2 separate regions of the Homo sapiens genome follow, and region 1 is linked to region 2. The links are contacts of gene promoters, found by promoter capture Hi-C in blood cells and fetal thymus (Javierre and others, 2016). All regions are on one chromosome and are shown on one strand. The core of a region is centred on a gene start or on the middle of the fragment in contact, and the rest is flanking DNA. Distances in the headings are between cores, read along the strand shown.

Evidence for each region. The method cuts DNA at HindIII sites, captures the fragments that hold promoters and counts their contacts. A CHiCAGO score of 5 or more calls a contact.
Region 1: a fragment that was not itself captured here is called in contact with the fragment with the promoter of H2BC12 in region 2 in 11 of 17 cell types (erythroblasts, fetal thymus, megakaryocytes and 8 more); the score reaches 11.9 in erythroblasts.

The regions. Positions count from the first base shown.
Region 1 is chr6:27,687,497-27,693,016 of GRCh38, reverse strand. TRI-AAT2-1 (tRNA-Ile (anticodon AAT) 2-1) reads right to left here and starts at 4,829; the gene lies at 4,756-4,829. RefSeq lists a silencer at 4,583-4,862, an enhancer at 5,023-5,102 and a cis regulatory region at 4,355-5,520. The HindIII fragment of the contact is 6,174 bases long and covers 1-5,112 here.
Region 2 is chr6:27,143,402-27,148,808 of GRCh38, reverse strand. H2BC12 (H2B clustered histone 12) reads left to right here and starts at 1,954. Exons shown (of 1, transcript NM_001312653.2): 1 at 1,954-2,448. The coding sequence starts at 2,011. The coding sequence ends at 2,391. It overlaps H2AC12 (H2A clustered histone 12), which reads right to left and starts at 1,703. Exons shown (of 1, transcript NM_080596.3): 1 at 1,247-1,703. The coding sequence starts at 1,680. The coding sequence ends at 1,294. MIR3143 (microRNA 3143) reads right to left here and starts at 1,183; the gene lies at 1,121-1,183. RefSeq lists enhancers at 1,317-1,566, 1,897-2,356, 1,611-2,527, 2,947-3,056. The HindIII fragment of the contact is 2,078 bases long and covers 1,064-3,141 here.

The DNA of each region.
Region 1 (5,520 bases), core at 776-3,275, 540 kb before region 2:
CTCGGCTCACTGCAACCTCCACCTCCCGTGTTCAAGCGATTCTCCTGCCTCAGCCTCCTCAGCCTCCCGAGTAGCTGGGATTACAGGCACCCACCACCGCACCTGGCTAATTTTTGTATTTTTAGTAGAGACGAGGTTTCACCACCTTGGCCAGGCTGGTCTCAAACTCCTGACCTCGTGATCCACCCGCCTCGGCCTCCCAAAGTGCTGGGATTACAGGCATGAGCCACCAAGGCCGGGCCACTCCACTTTTCCTTAAAGCAAAACCTGTCATTCTTCTGTTTCTTACCTCTTAGTTTCTTAGTCCTTTTTTTCCTATTAGCCCTATTTGTATTTATTTGTTATTAATGCACTATGACTAATAAAAACTTGCCTAGGGTCAGAAACTTTGAGCTTTAGCAGAAACAAAAACATACAAACAAAAACTCAGAAAGTTTTTTCAGATAAAGTTTTGTTTTTCAAGTACAATTAAGAGCATGATTCTGCTCAGGCGTGGTGGCTCGCGCCTGTAATCCCAGCACTCTGGGAGGCCGAGGCAGGCAGATCACTTGAGGTCACGACTTCGAGACCAGCCTGGCCAACATGGTGAAACCCCAACTCTACTAAAAATACAAAAACTAGCTGAGTGTGGTAGCGGGTGCCTGTAATCCTAGCTACTGGAGAGGCTGACGCAAGAGAATCTCTTGAACCAAGATAGCGGAGGTTGCGGTGAGCTGAGATCCCACCACTGCACTCCAGCCTGGACAACAGAGCAAGACTCCATCTCAAAAAACAAAAAACAAAAAACAAAAAAAAAAAAGAAAGAAAGAAAAGGGAAAAAAGCATGATTCTGAACAGTTTGGTCATTTTAGAAACTTTTGGGATAAATCTGAATACTCAGAGTTTTCTCTGGCCATAAAATAGAAGATAGGAAAAATGTAAATTTTTATTCATATGGAGAGAAAAGTCACAGTTGTCCCTGTATTATCTTTAAGAAAGCTCCTGTTCTTAATTCTCTAACTAACTGTAATAATATCTCGAAGGACTATCTGTAAAACAAAAGGAAACAACCACCTGTTAAATTCAGAATTCCAAAACATGTAGTTGTATCTCCTGTGTAATATAAACATCCATCTCATGGCCTTGCTTATTAATCATTCTTTAAAAATTATATATAAATTGGTTCTATGACCACTGTAAAAGTACCTGCATTTTGTTTGTTACATAGAAAAGTTTAAGGTTCAATGTAATCTTTAAGGGACCTAAATTGGCATAATAATATTTTCATAATTGGGAGGAGGGGTTATGACTTTCCTTCAATGCATGGGGAAAAACCACTTTGCTGCTTGTGGCAGCAGTATTAACTATAGTTGTAAGATTAGACAGCTTAAGGGTAATACCAACACCAGATGTGGTAGAACAGTGCCAATCACAGAGAAAGAGTCAGAGTACCTCTGTAGTTCCTGTCACGTGAGATGTATTTCTGTCCTAAGCCAATTGGATTATTCTTCCTTTTTCCCATTTTTATTTTTTATTTCGCAGCTGAATGATACATTCTAATGCAACATCCTTAACACTTACCAAGTTCTCAATTAAATCTATTCTGCATGATCCCCTCCTGTCTGGTAAATCTGGTAAATCTTCTCTGAGTCCTTTAGCTTCCTGCTCCCGTATGGATTAGTTGCATTCTAGGTTTCTTGAATAGCTGTCATCCTGTGTTTTTCATTTTTGAGCTCCTAGATCAGATTCATCATTTCCTGAGTTCCATGTCTTTCTCTGTCTTCCCCCCTATTTTCCCTGTAGTATATATATTCAGTTTGCGTCTTAAAATGTAGGTCAGCTTTTTGAGTCATGATAGGTTTATAAATGTCTTTATTCCAACTTCACATTTGATGTTACACATAGCTATAGAATTCTGTATTAAAACATTTTTCCTCCAGATTTTGAGGCATTATTTTGTTTTCTCCTAACATTCATTCGAGGTTGCTGATGAGACGTCTGATGCAGAAAGAGTATCTTTCTCTTGCCCACCACCATTACCTCTGAAAGCTGTTAGAATCTGATGTCGTTTGCTTTCAGTCTTATTCCACCGTGAGCAGGTCTATACAAGTCTACTCCTAAAGGCTGAGGAAGCTGAGAGGCCAAAGAAAGAGGCTGACAAATTCAGTTTCTCAGAAAGAAACATTTAATAACAGAAGCCATGTCTTGAGTGGTAGCAAGACAAGATGATGGATCCCCACATTGTCACCAGCCAAACCCAGGGCTTATGAACCACAGGGAATTTGCCTAAGGGCAGGATTTTTTTTTTTCTTTTCTTTTGAGACGGTCTCCTTCTGTCGCCCAGGCTGGAATGGCCAGATCTTGGCTCACTGCAACCTCTGCCTCCCAGGTCAAGCGATTCTCTTTCCTCAGCCTCTGGAGTAGCTGGGACTATAGGCACGCCCCACCATGCCCAACTAATTTTTGTGTTTTTGGTAGAGATGGCATTTCACCATGTTGGCCAGGCAGGTCTCAAACTCTGGACCTCAAGTAATCTGCCCACCTCGGCCTCCCAAAGTGTTGGGATTATAGGCATGACATACCGCGCCTAGCCTAAGGGCAGGATTTGTGTATGGTAAGTATGTGGTTACAATAACACCAAGGTTGTTTTCACCTAATTGCAGGATTTATTGTACCTCAAAGTAGAAATCTTAGAGGCATTCCCAGAACTGGGGTTAATCAGAAGTCAATATGGTGGGTTACCATCCAAGATGGAGTGGCTTTCAGCTGGGCACAGTTGCAGTTGGCCAAGATCATGCCACTGCACTCCAGCCTGGGCAATAGAGCTACAGTGTCTAAAAAAAATCTATATCTATATCTATATATATATATACACACACACACACACACACATATGCACACACACACATATATACATATATAATATTCATGCACACACATATTTTTGTACTCTAGTTTGTTACTTAACATTATTTCCTTCATATCTTTTCACTAGAGACAGCGGATTGCCACACCGAAGAGTGAGAGATCAATAAATGTTTGTTGAAATTATATATAATTTCCTTTGATTATTGTACAGCTTGGGAGCCCATATTCAAACCTCTTTGATGATCATATGGTCTAGGAAAGAAAGTGCTTTGTTCACCTTATAAGAGAAAATTAAGGGTATCGTCTTCACCACCCTCTTTCCTACGATGAAAAAGCCTGTACTTTGTACAGTGGACAAGAAGTATCTATATTCAATTCCTGGCTAGTAGGATCAACTCATTTGAAAATAAGCTGATTTTTTTTTTTTTTCAGATGGAGTCTCGCTCTGTCGCCTAGGCTGGAATGCAGTGGCATGATCTTGGCTCACTGGAGCCTCGGCCTCCCTGGTTCAAGCAATTCTCCTGCCTCAGCCTCCCGAGTAGCTGGGACTACAGGCGCGTGCTGCCACACCCGGTTAATTTTTGTATTTTTAGTAGAGACAGGGTTTCACCATGTTGGCTGGATGGTCTTTATCTCCTGACCTCGTGATCCACCCGCCTAGGCCTCCCAAATAAGCTCTGCTTTTAACAGTGTACAAAGTTGAAAAGTGCAATTTAAAACATCTAAGATACATTAAGAAAAAGTGTAAATGCAGAACAACGAGTAAATAACTAAGCTCTCTTTTGTGTGAAAAAGAAGAAAAAATAATCAATATAAATGCAGTATTTAAATAAAGAAACCCAGTAGGGATATATGAGAAATTAAGGACAGAGTTTACCTATAGTAGGTGGTGGTGAGAATTGAGCTGATGAAGAATAAAAATGGAAGGAAAGGCCAGGCAGCGTGGCTCACGCCTGTAATCCCAGCACTTTGTGAGGCCGAGGTGGGTGGATCGCCTGAGCTTAGGAGTTCGAGACCAGTCTGGCCAACATGGCGAAACCCCGTCTCTACTAAAAATACAAAAATTAGCCAGACATGGTGCTGCACGCCTATAATCCCAGCTACTCGGGAGGCTGAGGCAGGAGAATAGCTTGAACCTGGGAGACAGGGGCTGCAGTGAGCCAAGATCGGCCCACTGCACTCCAGCCTGGGCTACAGAGCAAGACTCTGTCTCAAAAAAAAAAAAAAAAAAAAAAAAAAAAAAAAGAAAGAAAGAAAAGAGAACTTTTTACTATATCTTTTTAAATTGTCTTTAAAATGTTTCTTTGTATAATAATAAGGTGTTATTTATTTTTTAAAAAACTCTTAAATTAGAAAAATATTTTTAAAGGTATGTATCCTGTTCACATTGGAATAAGCGTTCAGAGTATATAAAACAAAGATCTTTGTCATTGTTATCGTTGAAGTTTTTGAAAATTTTTCTTTCTCACTTTATAATCTTGTTTTCTCTTAGACTGAAATGAAGAAAACGGAATGACCCAGCATGAGTGATACAAACGGTGGGTGGTTTTACATGCGTTTTTTTTTTTTTTTTTGGAAGTAATCAAATAATTCAGTATTTTACTCCAAGAAAATTTCCCCGGGGCAGAGGAGGACAAAAATCACAAAAGCCTCCAACCGTAACGTACCTCTGTCACTGTAAGGTGCCTATAGCCCCTTTGTTTTACGGGTAGGATGTGGGTATGCCTTGGAGGCAGCGGAAAGAAACGTCCCCGTTCAAATTAACCGCTGTCGAGTAAGCGAGGGCGCACCAAATTCACAGATCCGTTTTCTCGGGGCAAAGTTAAGCCTGGAGAAACACACAGGTACACGTTTAGATCGATGTCTGGGTTACTATCCATTCTGGTGATAAAAGCCACAGAGAATACTTGGCCAGTACGGGGATCGAACCCGCGACCTTGGCGTTATTAGCACCACGCTCTAACCAACTGAGCTAACCGGCCGGATGACAGGATGCCTTACTTCCACATTATAAGCTACTATCAAACGGCATGCTTTGTGGAAATTTATCTTCGAATAGATAATCACATTCATTCTGTTTCCCAGTTTTCCTTCACCCGGGCTGGGAGTGGCGGAGCTCCACATTGAACACCAAAGAACCCTGCTTCTTACGGGGAAACAGTTTTTCTTAACCTGCTAATTCTGATCCGAGAAGATTCAAGTCAACGTTTCCAATCGGGGCTTCCTTCCTCCTGCCTGGGGCGAATCCGAAGTTGCATCCAAGCTTGAGATCTCGGCCAGCGGATCGGGGAACCGTTGGACCACGGAGCTGTCTCAAGGATGAAAGGACGCGGCTCCCGAGTGATGGTTGCAGAGTCCTCTCTGTTCTTGGAGACCCTTCCAGACAGGTCGGCTCTTCTCGAAGCCTTCGGGATCCGGAAACTGCACCCTCTCCCCGCCTAGCCTCGGGTGGTTCCTCTGTCACTACGACCCTGAAGTCTCAGCGGCGCTTCCCAGGCCTGTGGCTCCGGGCTCAAGAAAGTCACACACTTGCCGCTGCAGTTCCCGTCCCAGGACAGCTAGTGGCGCTCGGGCGCGGACTGCGGTTCGCTGAGACAAAAGGACGGTGGGGACAGCCTCTCTTGAGCATCTGCCCTCACCTCCTCCCTGGACAGAACCAAACCCCCAAAACAA
Region 2 (5,407 bases), core at 705-3,204:
TGGGGCCCTCCATTTTAGAGAGGAGATAAACAAAGATGACCTCTTTATAGGTGTTACTTGATCAGAGACCTACATAGATTGAAAAAAAGTGAGAAAGGTAGTTATCAGGGGAAGAGGGAATTTAAAGTGCAAAGGCCTTAAGACAGAAAATGTGTTTGGCATTTTGTGGGAATAGCCAGAAAGCCTTGAGGCTATGAAGTAAAAGCAGGCCAAGTAATATCAAGAGGGGGTGGGGCGGAGGAAGGAAACTCATAGGGCTTCCTAGGGTAGGTAAATTAATGTGGACAAGCAATCAAAAGCAATAGCAATCCCGATCTAATAAATTTGATAATACAAATTAGCTAGACAGAAAAAGCTATGTTGTATCCTAAGCTACTACAAGAGTGCATTAATACACCTGCTCCAAAGAAATGGGACTAAGGATTTACAAATATGGGATTCAGGAAATTCTGCATCCCATATTCTCCTTCCATCGGAATCAAATTCTAATGCAAATGAGTCACTAGACTTTCATCACCTGGGTAAAGTTACTCTTAAGAGTTAGACCACTTAAGAATCAGGCTGCCCTTTCTTGCTTTTCAAGAATACTTAGAATTGCAAAATTTGCCTTTAAAGAATGGCAAGTATATCCCATTTTTATGGCTGTTTGACAACACTATTAATGTAATAGAATTATTACACTGGAGGCCGGGCGCTGTGGCTCACGCCTGTAATCCCAGCACTTTGGGAGGCCGAGGCGGGCGGATCACCTGAGGTCAGGAGTTCGAGACCAGCCTGGCCACCATGGTGGAACCCCGTCTCCACTAAAAATACAAAAAAACTAGCCGGTCGTGGTGGTGTGTGCCTGTAATCCCAGCTATTCGGGAGGCCGAGACAGGAGAATCGCTTGAACCTGGGAGGTGGAGGTTGCAGTGAGCCGAGATCGCGCCGCGCCACTGCACTCCAGCCTGTTGGAGACTCCATCTCAAAAAAAAAAAAAAAAAAAAAAAAACCACTGGAATTAGTAAATAGATTTCAGGGATTTGTACGTTTGATTTCACTTATTACCCCTGCTGAATAAGCTTCTCCGGAGTATCCTACAACAACTTTTGGGTCTTCATTGCTTTCCAGTGGGTTAATTTAGAAACATTGTAAAGAGTTGCTCCAGCCCAACCGCGAAAGAAGCGCTTTACAATGTTATCTAGCGAAGCAAACATGAAGTGAAACAAACATGACTGTGTCCAGCTTTCTCTAAGACAGTGTAGAATGGCTCTGAAAAGAGCCTTTGTTTTCCAGTTTTCACAACCTCGCTCCTTATTTGGCCTTATGGTGGCTCTCAGTCTTCTTAGGCAGCAGCACGGCCTGGATATTGGGCAAGACACCACCCTGCGCGATGGTGACTTTGCCCAGCAGCTTGTTGAGCTCCTCGTCGTTGCGGATGGCCAGTTGGAGGTGACGCGGGATGATACGGGTCTTCTTGTTGTCGCGGGCCGCATTGCCAGCCAGCTCCAGGATCTCAGCGGTCAGGTACTCCAGCACCGCAGCCAGGTACACTGGCGCGCCGGCTCCAACCCGCTCGGCATAATTACCCTTGCGGAGCAGGCGGTGCACTCGGCCCACGGGGAACTGAAGCCCAGCCCGAGAAGAGCGGGTCTTGGCCTTGGCGCGAGCTTTACCGCCTTGCTTGCCACGTCCAGACATACTGGTCACAACTTACTGAAAGTAGCCAACGAGGAAAGGCAGCGCCTTTTATAAACACTATTGGGCGCGAAAAAGAAGATATGTCATTGGTTAGGGTTGTAGCTTAGTTTTAACCAATGGAAGTACGTCTTTTGGATTTGCAGATTGGGTTGATTGGGTATAACTAACCTCTGACGTCACCCTAATAACCACCAATCAGATACAGGACTTTCACTCTTCACCTTATTTGCATGAGAGGTCCTATATAAAAACGACTCCTGGTACCTTGCTCCCATTACTTCCCGTTTTCTCGATCTGCTGCTCGTCTCAGGCTCGTAGTTCGCCTTCAACATGCCGGAACCAGCGAAGTCCGCTCCCGCGCCCAAGAAGGGCTCGAAGAAAGCCGTGACTAAGGCGCAGAAGAAGGACGGCAAGAAGCGCAAGCGCAGCCGCAAGGAGAGCTACTCCGTATACGTGTACAAGGTGCTGAAGCAGGTCCACCCCGACACCGGCATCTCCTCTAAGGCCATGGGAATCATGAACTCCTTCGTCAACGACATCTTCGAACGCATCGCGGGTGAGGCTTCCCGCCTGGCGCATTACAACAAGCGCTCGACCATCACCTCCAGGGAGATCCAGACGGCCGTGCGCCTGCTGCTGCCCGGGGAGTTGGCCAAGCACGCCGTGTCCGAGGGCACCAAGGCCGTCACCAAGTACACCAGCGCTAAGTAAACTTGCCAAGTAAGCGTCTTAAAGCCCAACCCCAAAGGCTCTTTTAAGAGCCACTTAAATTATCGATATTAGAGCTGTAAACACGTGTTCCTAATCCAGGCTTAAATTCGGGCGATCTTTTTAAAGGGATTATCATGATCTTATCACACTGAGTAATGCATGCAGTGCTTGTAATCGAGTCTGGCTAAGGAGAAGCCACATACACTTTGTTAGTACTGAGTGAGGAATATGGCGCCTAAAAAATTAGGGATGTGCAGGAAACTTGTGTTAACAGAAAGTGCTTCCTGGCTCTTGGCGCGAAAATGGATACTTCCGTTGTGTCGAGTGCTGTGACTTCCTGTTAGAACTTGTTGAAAGCCTATTGTGTCACGTGTACTTTCCACCATGTAATGGCGTTCTAACGTGAGTTTATATATTAGTAAATTTGGTTCCCGATGGCGTTCCAGTACGTATGGCTTTCGCTCGAGCAGTTACCTTATTTAACCTCTTCTAGGCTGTACCCAGCTCTGCCTTGCTTTGCTTCCCCCTCACCCCCTGATTCCATCTCTGCAGCCCACGGGACATCGGGAAGATGCCAGACCACCAGGCAGGATAGTCTGCAAGGGTAAGGGGAGGAGCACAGCTTTTCTCAGGAGTGAAGAAACGGAACATGAAATCATCACGGAGATTTTTGGAATAGTTTACTAGTTTTTAAGGCATGTTCAGCGTCAATTGGTCCAATCAGTAATTTTTCCTTTTGACAAGAAAGCTTATAGAAAAGGAAAATGAAAAGCAAGTAGATTCAGAGGGGAGACAACAGACAGACTAGAGACAGTCCGCCCCGAAGCAAGAAGTTGGAGTAGAGGAGAAGGGAACTTCCCCAGCAGCACAGGGTTTGAGCTAAGTGTTAGGTGGTGGGTTAGAATTAGGTGGTGGGTTTTATTGTGTGATTAGAGGCTAGAATGACTATGCCGGTGATGAGCAGTGTGAAACTTTTTTGGAAGAACCAAGTGAAAGAAAGAGTCCACGAATTTTAAGCTAGGTTGTTACCTGGCTAAATTTGTGATTTAGAAATGTAGGCCAGTTTCACAGGGGAATTTTGTGTGTGTGTGTGTGTGTGTGTGTGTGTGTGTGTGTGTGTGTATTTAACATATTTGGCCACGCATTGTTCTAGTCTTTGGGGATATTGCCCGCCCTTAGGCATTTGGAGATTAGCAGGGTCATATTGAAAAACTTCATACATGCAAAGCATATGTTCACTGTTGATCCAAGTCTTATTTATCCTACCAGTAATTTTGGGGTTACATTAATATTCTAAGAAATGTATCAACAAATAATTATATTTATTGTTTACCTATATAGGAGGCACTGATCTATATCTATACCTATATAGGAGGGCAGATCACTTGAAGTCAGGAATTCAAAACCAGCATGGCTAACATAGTGTGAAACCCCGTCTCTACTAACAGTACAAAAATTAGGGGGGGCGTGGTAGCATGTGCCCGTAGTCCCAGCTACTCGGGAGGCTGAGGCAGAATTGCTGGAAGCCAGGAGGCAAAGGTTGCAGTGAGCCTAGATCACCTCACTGCACTCCAGCCTGGGCAACAGAGCAAAACTCCGTCGCAAATAAAATTAAAAAATAAACTAAAATACACTATGCCAATGAATTCTACCTTCAGGTATACCTGACTACTTTTTATAGACTAAAATTTTTACTCTGGAGCTATCTGCTGTTATTACCTTTAGACTTACAAACTATTTTTGCAAATGGACATATCATCTTGATTTTATACAATTTACTTTCAGTCCTTTTTGCTCTTTTTACAAAATTCTGGAAGTGCATTTGTGTTTTAATAGAAATACTGGGTGGAAGTGGCCATAACTTTCTCCTGCTTTCACCCTCACCCCTTTTCTCCCTTCAAAATGATCTCATTTTATTTCTCTTGATAGCACAGATTCCGCCCCCCCCCCCCCCCCCAGACAGAGTCTCACTCTGTTGCCCAGGCTGGAGTGCAACGGCGAGATCTTGGCTCACTGCAACCTCCGCCTCCCAGGTTCAAGCGATTATCTTGCCTCAGTTTCCCGAATGACTGGTATTACAAGTGCCTGCCACCATGCCCAGCTAATTTTTGTATTTTTAGTAGAGATGGGGTTTCAACATGTTGGCCAGGCTGGTCTGGAACTCCCGACCTTGGGCGATCCACCTGCCTCGGCCTCCTAAAGTGCTAGGATTACAGGTGTGAGCCACCACGCCCGGCTGATAGCACAGAATTTAACAGCTTGAAGGAATCAAAAAGTTCAGATCACTGTTATTTTACAAATAGCTAAATGGATGCAAAGCTTACTTTGCTCAAATCATTAGACTCAGAACAAGATTCCATTATGCTCTTGTTTGTTTCCATTATACCATATATCTCTTTGTCATCTATTTTCTCATTAGCCACGTGTATTAATTTGACTTAATTTGGAGCAAAAATAGGGCTCTTTTAACTTATTTATTTGTATATTTCATAATCTCTTTTAAATTGTTAAAAAGTTGAATGTGCTAAATTGTCTCCTGTCTCATAAATTTTTTTTTTTTTTTTTTTTTTTAAAGAGTAGTTCAGTGCTTTGCAATAATTGCTGTGTGATTCTGGACCACAGCAATTCAATCTAGCAATTGTTACAGCCTGCTGAAGAACGCTTGCACAGAATAATTGCCTGCTTCAGATTCTCCCATCCTTTGGGAAACTGAGAGTAGCTCTGGGATTGAAAAGTGGAGGTTTATTTAACTGTGGTTAGGGACTTGGCAATCATATGTTTGGTCTCTGCTGTTATCTAGTATCTTTAAGTCTAGAAGTTGGAAGTAAAGAGGTCAGTGGACCTAAGAAAATGGCATGGCTTTCTACCCTAGATGAGCTGGAAAAACTTAGTAATTCTTCAAGTGCTTAATACAAAGGAGCAAATCTCACAACTCAATGCCTATGAATTGTAATATATCATGTCACTACTTTCTTGATATTACCTGAGGTATAAGTACAGTTGGGAGAAGACCTTA